3 separate regions of the Homo sapiens genome follow, and regions 1 and 2 are each linked to region 3. Evidence: promoter capture Hi-C in 16 types of primary human blood cells and fetal thymus (Javierre and others, 2016). All regions are on one chromosome and are shown on one strand. The core of a region is centred on a gene start or on the middle of the fragment in contact, and the rest is flanking DNA. Distances in the headings are between cores, read along the strand shown.

Region 1 (3,621 bases), core at 882-3,381, 690 kb before region 3:
GTCCTGTGAATAAAGAGATGGGAGATTTGATTCCGTCAGAAGAGACTGTAATCCGTGTCGTCAGCCTGGGAGCCTTCCCCAGTGTAATGTAGCTTTCTCTCTTACCTTCTGGAAGAGGGAATGTTTCATTTATTACTGTTTGATTTTCTTGTATCTGGTTCTACTCCCAGGATGAAATTATCCAACTACATATATATTTAGAGGAAGAAAGTGAAGGGGAAATTTAAAATGTTTACGGCGCTTAATTGCCTGGAAATGAAATGAAATCAAATTTATCAGTTTTTTTCCCCCTAATTACCCAAAAGATCTTTTGCAAACTATGTTACATGAATGCTTCTGCCTCTTTAAGACAAAGAAGAATGTCACCCAAAATTGTCATTTTTTTCTTAATGTTCATCATAAAAGTCCTAAAAGAGTAACTGTAATTGGATGTTTATTGTTTTTATCTAAAGTAAGGTGTATGTGTTTGAGACAAGCTGGTTTTGTTGATAAAGAGATGTTAAATAATTGTGAAGCCAGATATGCAATGTGTATCTGAAAAGCAAGGAATTTGCAGCCGTTTTACAAATATCTGTGGAACATGTAAATACTGTCAAATGGAAAATAAAATAAGTTATAATTTTTGTGAATTTCATGGGATGTCCTATGATTGGAAAAATTATAACTCTTCTGATTCTAATGTGGAAATTGTTGTATTTAATCTGAAAATGACTTTACCTACAACAGTTCCATTGTCAGCACAGCCTAGGAAGGTCAGATCCTGTATTAATTACTCTTAGTGGAGATGCCAGATATCCCATACAGAATTAGCAGAGAAAATACACACAGGCTTCTATTCAAATTTTCTTTAGTGCTTAAAATTAAGTTTTAAAATGAAATCAGACACTGCAGGTTTGTATATAAAATGAAAAGCTATACTACTTTTTACAAAAGGGCAAACTGGGCTGATGTAAATGTTTTACTTTCAACTGTGTTCTTTAAAATAAATCCTACCTGGTTTTTAAATTTTATTTTTCATGAAAATGCTCCTTTCTCTACATTTATTCATCCTATATACATCAGGCTGTAAGACCCCCCCCAGTCATCATTAATACAATGTGTTGGGATTCTGTGACTGGAAAAGGTGACAAGTTGGTGACTTTGACACTGCAGGTATTCCATTTTCATGGTTTACTATGAAAAGTCATTTTTCATATTATGTAATATATTGTTAGATTAAAACCATTGTATTAAGACTTTAAAATGTAAGCATTGTAATTCTGAAAATACACATTTTAAGAAGAAACTATTTTGCACTGGATCTTTTGCTGCGACATGGTGTGACAACAGTATGTAATGTGAAGATTTTATTGTTTTATCTCCCTAGTCCTTGTTCCTGACTCTTGGGCATAGATTATTTGCCTTTTGGGAAACATTCGGATTATTTTTTTTTTTTTTTTTTTTTTTTTCTCTGAGACAGTCATGCTCTGTTGCCTAGGCTGGAGTGCAATGGCGCGATCTGGGCTCACTGCAGCCTCCGCCTCCCAGGTTCAAGCCATTCTCCTGCCTCAGCCTCCCGAGTAGCTGGGACTACAGGCATGCGCCTCATTTTTATACTTTAGTAGAGATGATGTTTCACCATGTTGGCCAGGCTAGTCTCGAACTGCTGACCTCAGGTCATCCACCCGCCTCAGTCTCCCAGGCGTGAGCCACCGCACCGGCCAGCATTCGGGACTTTATTCATAATTCCTTACCCAACAGTTCACAAGAACGAAGACATTTGGGTGTGCAGCGCTCTCATGTTGTGGACGCTGCTGTGCCAGGCTGGGCGTCCGTGCGGAGCGCGCCCAGCGCTGGAGCGCGCCTAAGAGGCGCCCTGCAGTGTGGCTCCGGGGTGTGGGCGGGGCCCGGAGAAGGCCCCCGCCTTGGGAGGGGTTGGGCCTCGCGTTCAAACTCCGCCTCGGGGCGGGGCGAGGGCGACGCAGCTCCTCCTGCCTCCTGGGCCGCTGCGGACGGTGGTGCGCGACCCCGTCCCGGGCGCGCGCGCTGTGGGCGGTGCACGCCGTCGCTTCCCGGAAGTGCGTGCTGTGGGCGGTGCCGCGCGGACCCCCGGGAAGTGTCTCTGTGGGCGGCCGCCGGGTTGAGCTGCGGCACACGTGCGACGGCCGTGATGAAGTTCGCTTACCGGGTGAGCGCGGGCGGCGGGCGGTCTGTTGGATCGGCGCGGCTCTTCCGGTGGACGGCGCCTGAGCTGGCTCCGGGCGGGCTGGGGGCGCGTGGTCTGCTTTTGCGGCGTCTGGCCGCGTGGGGGTCGCCGGCTGTCTGCGCGCCCGTGGCCTCGGGGACGCGGGGCTGTGGTGGGGCTCCTGGGAGAGCTGGGACGGAGGCGCCGACGGCTTCTCGGAGGGAACAGGGACATTTGTCGGGGTCCCGGGATATTTTTAACCTGAGTATGGCCCAACCTAAAGGCTGGAGTTGGTGCAGTCGGGGAGGGCACAGCACCCTCGGGAGGGATGAGGAGGTGGGACGGGGCGGGGACGCGGGCGCGCGCAGGCGGGGTGAGAACAGCAGGGACCCGGGGCCCGGGACTGGTCCCTAACGAGCGAGCGTCCAGGTGAGCGGAAGGGCGGGGAACCCAGGTGTGAGCTCTGTTTCCCGAGGCCGGAGGGAATTCCTGAGGCGGACGCCCTCAGCTTTGAGAGCCAGGGAAGACTTGTCCCAGATGTGAAGTGCAGGAGGCGGGTGAGACAGGTAATAAGAGGGGGCCGTGGAGCCGGCCTGGGGGTCTCTGAAGCGTTTGCTACAGCTGGCCGGTTATGGGGACGCCTGTGTTTCCCACAGTGGCCCTGACCGTTGCGCTTCCAGGGTTGCACGGGCCGCCTGCTGCTGAGCCCACCGTGTACTACACTTGTCCTGTCCGAAACTGGGCATGGTACTGGCCCCTCAGAGTGCTGCTCCTGTGTCCCCTGTGCTGGTGGAGCCACCGCTGTGTGCCCAGCACCAAACCAGAAACCATATCCACGTCCTCACAGGCCAGGACTTCATCCGCTCCACATTCCTACTGCAAGGTGGCAAAAAATGTGCCTTGGAGCCTGCCTGGCCGCTTAAAGTCCTTCTGCTGACCAAGCTCCTCCCTGAGGTCCTGAGGGCGCTGCCCACTCACAGCTTCAGGGCCTGGCTGGTGCCTTCCCATTTAGATTCCAGCTCAGGTGACCCTTCCAGGTGCCTCTCCGTGACCACCGTCTAAAGTAGCCCCTGCTCCCACACTTCTCATCCCCCTCCTGCTAGAGAGAGAATATAAGGTGTGCGTGTCTGTGCGCATGGCAGTCTCCAGTGAACGCTCGTGCTCGTGAGTTAGTAAATAGGATGCTGGCTTACCACACTTCTGGAAGCCCTGAGTTCTAAGCACTTTTGGGGTGCTGTTCCATTGTTGCAGCTTTTTTCTTGGTGAAGTGTGGGCTCCATGCCCCTCTTCACCTGGCAGACGCCTCCTGTCTTGGGAGGCTTCCTCAGTGCTCACAGGGGCATCTTACCCATCTCTGTGGGAGCTTGGGGCCGCCCGGGCTCCTCTGGTCTCCTGAGGATCAGGCTCACTTCTTCCTCTCTTACCCAGGAAAGGTGAACGGGCCCCCAAGGTGGGGT
Region 2 (3,306 bases), core at 349-2,848, 780 kb before region 3:
AGCGCTGGATTCTCCTAGGAGGGTGAACCCTGTTGTGAACTGCACATTGGAGGGGTCTAGGTTGCGTGCTCCTTATGAGAATCTCATCCCTAATGATGTGTCCCTGGCTTCCATCATCCCTAGATGTGACCGTCCAGTTGCAGGAAAACAAGCTCAGGGCTCCCACTGATTCCACATTATGGGAAGTTGTATTTTATTACATATTACAACATAAAAATAATAAAGTGCACAATAAATGAAATGTGTTTGAATCGTCCTGAAACCACCCCAACTTTGTCTGTGGAAAAACTGCATTCTATGAAACTGGTCCCTGGTGCCAAAAAGGTTGGGGACTGCTGCTGTTAATGACTAAGAAAGACCAGGTCTCCCCCTTCCCATTTGGTGATTTTTGTTACAGATTAGCTGTCTCCATTGTCCTGTACCTGACTTAGACCAGACAGCACAGAGACCCCAGGACTGTTTCATCTTCAGTGGGTCCCCAAAGAAAAAGACCACCTCGACTAAACAGACTGTTGTAACTATGCATTAGGCCTTATACAGAAAAGACGCTGAAATTCGGTTAGGCTTCCCGAGACGCTGGCTATAGAAACGACCCCAAATTTCTACGTTTGAGAACACTGACTTCCATTCTTTATAATGTTTCCTGGGCGCCTCAAGCTTCGCATTTGACTAAACTCTAGATTCTGACCCTTTTGATTATTTTTGGTTGACAGTTTTTGTCATTTTATGGCTGGGAGTGATGGCTCACACCTGTAATCTCAACACTTTGGGAGGCCAAGGCTGGAGGATCACTTGAGCCCAGGAGTTTGAAACCAGCCTGGAAAACATAGTGAGATCCCGACAAAAGAAAAGAAAAGAAAAAAATTAGCTGGGCGTGGTGGCTGCCCCCGTGGTCCCAGTTACTGGCGGAGGGGGTGGGGCGGGGGGAAACAAGGCGGGAGGATCGCTTGAGCCTGGAAGGTGGAGGCTGCAGTGAGCCGTGTCCCGCCACTGCACTCCAGCCTGAGCCAACTGAGGAAGACCCTGCTCCAAAGAAAAAAAGAAAAAGAAACACCCGCGCCCCGCCCCCCCCGTTTACGTGCACAAGAAGCCCATATGCAGTTAAGTGTGAGGTTTATTTTGTGGCATTCCGAAATGCCGAGGGCCAGGTCCCCACAAAAACATTTGCGGCGTGAGGGAAACGGGAAGAGCCCAGCGGTAGGCGGAAGGCACGCGCCGGGGACACTCAGCGGCGAGGGCCTGCGGGAGCCCCCAGCGCGATAAGGAGCCCGGCCGGGGAGCAGCGGCCCGCCGCGGGACGCCCGAGCTGCGGGGAACGCGAGGGCAGCGAGGCCGGCGTCTCTGGTCCGGGAGCGTCCAGGCTCGCTCACCGCGCGCGAGGCCCGCCTGCCGAGTCCTGGCCTCAGCTCCGGCGCAGGGCCCAGCGGGGCGCCCACTGCCGAGGGAGGAAGATGGACGTGTCCCGGGAGCCCCGCTCCGCCTCCCACTTCCCACCTCCCGGTCCCGCGCGGCCGGCCCGGGCGCACTTCCGTCGGAGGCGAAGCGCGGCGAAGACCCGCCCCGTGAAGCCTCGCGCGCCCCGGAAATGGTCATGCGGCGGCGCCGAGGCCGGAAGTGGCTGAGGCCGGCAGCAGCGGGCGGCAGCTGCGGCGCAACCGGCTCCGGAGCTGCCTGGCGCGGCCGGGCGGGCGGCGCCGCTCAGGCTCGGGCTCCGGCTGGGCCCGGCGCGGCCTCGGGGCTGCCCATGGGGCGCGGGGGGCCGGGCCGGTGACGCCGGACGCCCATGGACGCCTCTGAGGAGCCGCTGCCGCCGGTGATCTACACCATGGAGAACAAGCCCATCGTCACCTGTGAGTGCCCGGAGGCGGGGAGGGCGCGGCGGTCGTTGGGCGGGCCCGGGCCCTGGCGTTATGCACCCGGCGCCCCCAGACCTTCAGCCCCCGGCGCGCTCCGGGCTGGGCCGCTTCCTGGAGGTGTGACCAGGGCTGCGGCTGAGGCGGGGCCCTCTGACTTTTCGGGGACGCCCTCTGACCTTCCCGCCGGGCGACCTCTGACCCCTGGGGGGCGCCCTCGGGCCGGCTGCAGTTGGAGCCGGTGGAACCCGGCGGACTCTGCCCGGGACTGGGCGCGCGCCGGCGTCGAGGGCGAGGAGCGGGGGCTGCCACCGCCCCGTCCCGCCCCCGTTGAGCCGCGCGCCCGGGACCTGGGGGCCCCGGCCTCTTCCGCCGGGCGGTTTTGCCCGCGGGCGCCCTTTCCCCGACTACGGGGAAGTCCTTGGGGGCTCGCAGAGTTGCAGGCGTTGGCGAAGTAGGAACAGTTTGTTGCGGGGTGAAGCGTCAGGCAGAGCCGCCGGGACTGCTTTCGCTCCTACACACTTCCCCGCCGCGCACTCAAACCATTTTACGGATGAGAAAGCCGAGGCTCGGGCGCTTAGGCGAGCTTGCTCCCCATGAACAGCCTCCCGCTCGAGTCTACACTACGGACACCTGGTGCCTCTTGGGTGTCGTGTCCTCCCCGCACCCCTCCTTTAATGCATACACAAAGGAACTGTTTTTCTGTTACGGGAAAAATGTTCCCTAAATTTTAGAAGTGTGACTCTCCAGAGTTAAATACGGTTAAGAACAGTGAGCTTATGGGAAGTATTGAAATGTTTGTTGGTTGGCTTTTAGGTGACTTGCAGAGAGGTGTTTCAGACTGTTACGATTTTTGACCTTTGACAGTATTCTGTATTTTCATGCATGTATGCAGTTAGTTTTTTTCTAGTTGTCTTTCGTGCTTGGAAAGGAAGCACTCTCTGTTGCAAAATCTGGGTGCCCAGGCCACAGTAGACTGTATGTCGTGAGAACTCCTGTTTCCCTCTCACTCTGTCAGCGGGTGTGCACCTGCTGTGTTCCTTCCTGTTAGATCCCTGAGAAACTGTATATTGAAGGTTGAATTTTGTTGCTTCAGCTTTAGGTGATAGACTTATTTCTTTCCTTCCTTTTGCTTTATTTTGTCTCTTCTCCTCTCCTCCTCTCTCTTTTTTTTCTACAGAGACCTAGACGAGATGATAGACTTTTCTTAGGGAAGTGGACTGTGTCTCATTTAAAATTGGAGACTTGCATAGTTCAGCAGTAGCTGTCTTTTTTCCTCCCCAGAATATTTGTCAGCTGAAAGTCTTTTCCTACTCTGCACCTTCAGCCCCAGAGGGCAGATGTGGGTAGAGCTGGTCTGCAGGCCCTGCAATTTCCCAGGGGCTTTCCCAGTGCTCAGGGAAGATGAAGCCATGCGCAGTTCATGTTAAGTTTTACTGTCTTCCAGAGGTTG
Region 3 (3,568 bases), core at 698-3,197:
TTATTCTTCATCTGGAGTTCCCCTTTGGCACTCCCCTGCGTGACACCCTCCCTTAGGGAGGGGAAAGGGTGGTCTAAAAACTGCAGCTCCAGACCTGCTCCTGGCAATGCAGGCTCAGCACAGAGACCTGCCCGGGTGTGCGCTGGCCTTCCCGCCAGCTTTGTTATTCAACAGTGGCCTCTACTGGTCAATAAAGAAGTGCAGCAAATGAGTTCAGAGGCTGGAGGGAATGGTTCAGGGCACTTATTTTTTCCATTTTGTTTTTTGCTTCCAAAGCATATACACGCGTACACAAAATAATATACAGTTTCATGTTTACTGATAAGAAACAAGTTCAAAAAAAGAGACGAATCTTGGTATCAGGGAAATTTTCAGAGGCCATTCCTTGCCACTTAAAATAGTGGCTTAACAAATAGCTACCACACAAAGTGAAATATAACCTTTGACCCAGCAATTCCATTTCTAGGAATCCATCCCACAGATAACATTGGTGAAGATAAAAAATGTATACACAGGCTATTCATTTCAGGACTATTTGTAAAAACAAAAAGAAATTAAAAAGAACTTGAGTGTCTATCAACAGAGGACCAGTCAAATTATGATACATATACCAGTGGGGTACTTTGCAGCTATAAATACCTCTACATGCTAGTACAGAACAAACTTCAGGACATATTACATGAAAAAAAAGAAGGTGGAGAAAAGTGTGTGACTAGGGCCTTTAAGAGGTAATTAAAATTAATGTGGTCATTAGGGTGGACCTTAATCCAATCTGACTAATATCCTTTTAAGAAGAGATGAGGACACAGGCATAGAGGACAGAGCCTCAGAAGAAACCAGCCCTGCCCTATCCTTGATCTTGGACTTCCAGCCTCCAGGACTATGAGGAAATACATTTCTGTTGTTTAAGCCGTGCCCAGCCTGTGTGGTAGAGCAGCCCTAGCAAACACAGTGCTGAAACAACTGCACTGCCATTTACAAATAATTTACAAATAAACCTTGGCCTTTATCTCATACCATATGGAAAACTTTGATATGGATCCCAAACCTAAATACAAGAGCTGAAACTATAAAACATCTAGAAGAAATCATAGGAGAAAATCCTACTGCCACCTGATGTTTGGCAGTTATTTCTTAAATATAACACAATAGCAAGAAATATTTTAAAAGTCAATAATTGAATTTCATCGAAATAATAAAAACCCTTCTTTTTTTGTTTTTTTTTTTTTTTGAGACGGAGTCTCGCTCTGTCACCCAGGCTGGAGTGCAGTGGCGTGATCTCGGCTCACTGCAAGCTCCACCTCCCAAGTTCACGCCATTCTCCTGCCTCAGCCTCCTGAGTAGCTGGGACTACAGGGGTCCGCCACCATGCCCAGCTAATTTTTTGTATTTTTAGTAGAGAGGGGGTTTCACCGTGTTAGCCCGGATGGTCTCCATCTCCTGACCTCGTGATCCGCCCACCTCAGCCCACAAAGTGCTGGGATTACAGGCGTGAGCCACTGCGCCCAGCCAAAGAACTAAAACTTAAGAAAATCAACACAATTTTGAAAGAAGCAAAGACTCAAGTCACTTTATCTAAAAAGACATATGGATGGCAAATAAACACGTGAAATGATGCTCAACATCACGAGTCTTATGGAAATGCAAATGAAAACCTCAGTAAGGGCCGGGGGCTGTGGCTCATGCCCGTAAATCCCAGCACTTTGGGAGGCGAGGCAAACTCCTGAGGTCAGGAGTTAGAGACCAGCCTAGCCAACATAGTGAAATCCCGTTTCTACTAAAAATACAAAAATTAGCCAGGTGTGGTGGCACGCGCCTATAGCCCCAGCTACTTGGGAAGCTGAGGCAGGAGAATTACTTGAAGCCAGGAGGCAGATGTTGCAGTGAGCTGAGATCATGCCACTGCACTCCAGCCTGGATGACAGAGAGAGCACCTCAAAAATAAAAAATAAAAAAAAATAAATAAATAAAACAAAACCTCAGTAAGACTGCTATACACCCAATAGAATGGCTAAAATTTTTAAAACTGGAAGGGCGCAGTGGCTCGCAGTTGTAATTCCAACACTTTGGAAGGCCAAGACGGGCAGATTGCTTGGGCCCACGAGTTCGAGACAAGCCTGGGCAACATGGCGAAACCCTATCTCTACTAAAAATACAAAAATTAGCTAAGCGAGGTGGCATGCAACTGTAATCCCAGCTTCTTGGGAGGCTGAGGTGGCAGGATTGCTTGAGCCTAGGAGGCAGAGGCTGCCATGAGCCATGACTACACCACTGCACTCTAGCCCGAGTGACAGAGTGAGAACCTGTCTCAAAAAAAAAAAGAAAGAAAGAAAGAAAAAAGAAAACAAAAAACAACTGGCCACGCGAAGTGTCAGCAAGGAGGTGGGGCAACGGGAACACTTAATACACTGCTAGGGAAATGTGAACTAGAGGAAAACTGGCCGTTTCTTTAAAAATTAAACACACACTTCCCATTATAACCCTGGTTATTTACACAGGAGAAATAAAAGCATATATCCACAGAAAGACATGTACATTTAGGACATGCACACAGGGGGAAGATGGCCATGCGAAGATGGAGGCAGAGATTAGAATTACACTACCTCAAGCAAGAGAATGACAATAAACGCCAAGGATGACCAACAATCACCATTAGCTGGAAGAGGCAAGTAAGGGTTCTCCCCTCGAGCCCTCAAGAGGAAGAATGACCCCATCAACACCTTTATTTTAGATGTCTGGCCTCCAGAACAGTAAAAGAATAAATTTCTGTTGTGCTAAGCCCCCCATGGGCAGCCCACTTCTACCTGGGTCTATCTCTGACACTCCTAGGAAAGGCTGGATGATGAATGAAGACAGAACATCAAGACAAGACAGCAGTTTACAACAATTGAGTTCTTTCCTGGCTCTCCTTTTTTCCTGTTTATGAACCTAGGCAAAATCATCTTGTCTGTTGCTCAATTCCATAAAATCTGTAAAATTAGGGGGCTTGAACAGAATCATAGCCAAGGTCCCACCACCTCTGAATTTCTGCAGTTATATGACTACTCCCAAATACAATAAAGTGTGCATGAACATCTAACCAAATTTATCTAAACCCCTTCTATGTAGAGATTGATTCTGTCAAGTCCACCTTTACACTGGAATGTGCTACCTTAAAATACGTTATGAGGACAAACTAGATGTTAAGATACACACACAAAAAAAACCAGTAAATGATACACAAAAAAAACCCACTAAATTTTATCACATTATTAAGATACAGGAAAAACAAAGTCCCCTCAATAACACACTGTATTCATCTTCTGTCACTGCTGTAACAAATTACCACAAATTTAGTGATTTAAAACAATACTCATTGATGATCTCAGAGTTTCCAAGCGTCAGAAGTCTGGACACAGCATGGGCCAGCTAGTTCTCTGCTCAGAGTCTCACCAGGGCTGCCACTCCAAGTTCATTGAGGTTGCTGACAGAATTCACTTCCACGGGTCTGTTGGTCTGGGATCATTCTCAGCTTCTTGAGGCTGCCCGCCTTCCTTAGGTCATGGCTCCTTCTTCCATCTTCACAGCC

Evidence for each region. The method cuts DNA at HindIII sites, captures the fragments that hold promoters and counts their contacts. A CHiCAGO score of 5 or more calls a contact.
Region 1: the fragment with the promoter of PWP2 here is called in contact with a fragment that was not itself captured in region 3 in 1 of 17 cell types (naive B cells); the score reaches 6.1 in naive B cells.
Region 2: a contact is called between the fragment with the promoter of TRAPPC10 here and a fragment that was not itself captured in region 3, in 1 of 17 cell types (naive B cells). The highest score is 5.9, in naive B cells.

The regions. Positions count from the first base shown.
Region 1 is chr21:44,105,268-44,108,888 of GRCh38, forward strand. PWP2 (PWP2 small subunit processome component) reads left to right here and starts at 2,132. Exons shown (of 21, transcript NM_005049.3): 1 at 2,132-2,167. The coding sequence starts at 2,150. TRAPPC10 (trafficking protein particle complex subunit 10) reads left to right here. Exons shown (of 23, transcript NM_003274.5): 23 at 1-1,285. RefSeq lists silencers at 1,678-2,194, 1,785-2,168. The HindIII fragment of the contact is 7,342 bases long and covers 1-3,621 here.
Region 2 is chr21:44,010,711-44,014,016 of GRCh38, forward strand. It overlaps TRAPPC10 (trafficking protein particle complex subunit 10), which reads left to right and starts at 1,599. Exons shown (of 23, transcript NM_003274.5): 1 at 1,599-1,850. The coding sequence starts at 1,784. RefSeq lists silencers at 1,224-1,603, 1,754-2,423 and enhancers at 2,974-3,033, 3,054-3,103. The HindIII fragment of the contact is 3,568 bases long and covers 656-3,306 here.
Region 3 is chr21:44,793,322-44,796,889 of GRCh38, forward strand. All of the region lies in intron 1 of UBE2G2 (ubiquitin conjugating enzyme E2 G2), which reads right to left. Among named protein-coding and RNA genes, the nearest start is that of UBE2G2, 6.7 kb to the right of the region's middle. The HindIII fragment of the contact is 4,014 bases long and covers 1-3,568 here.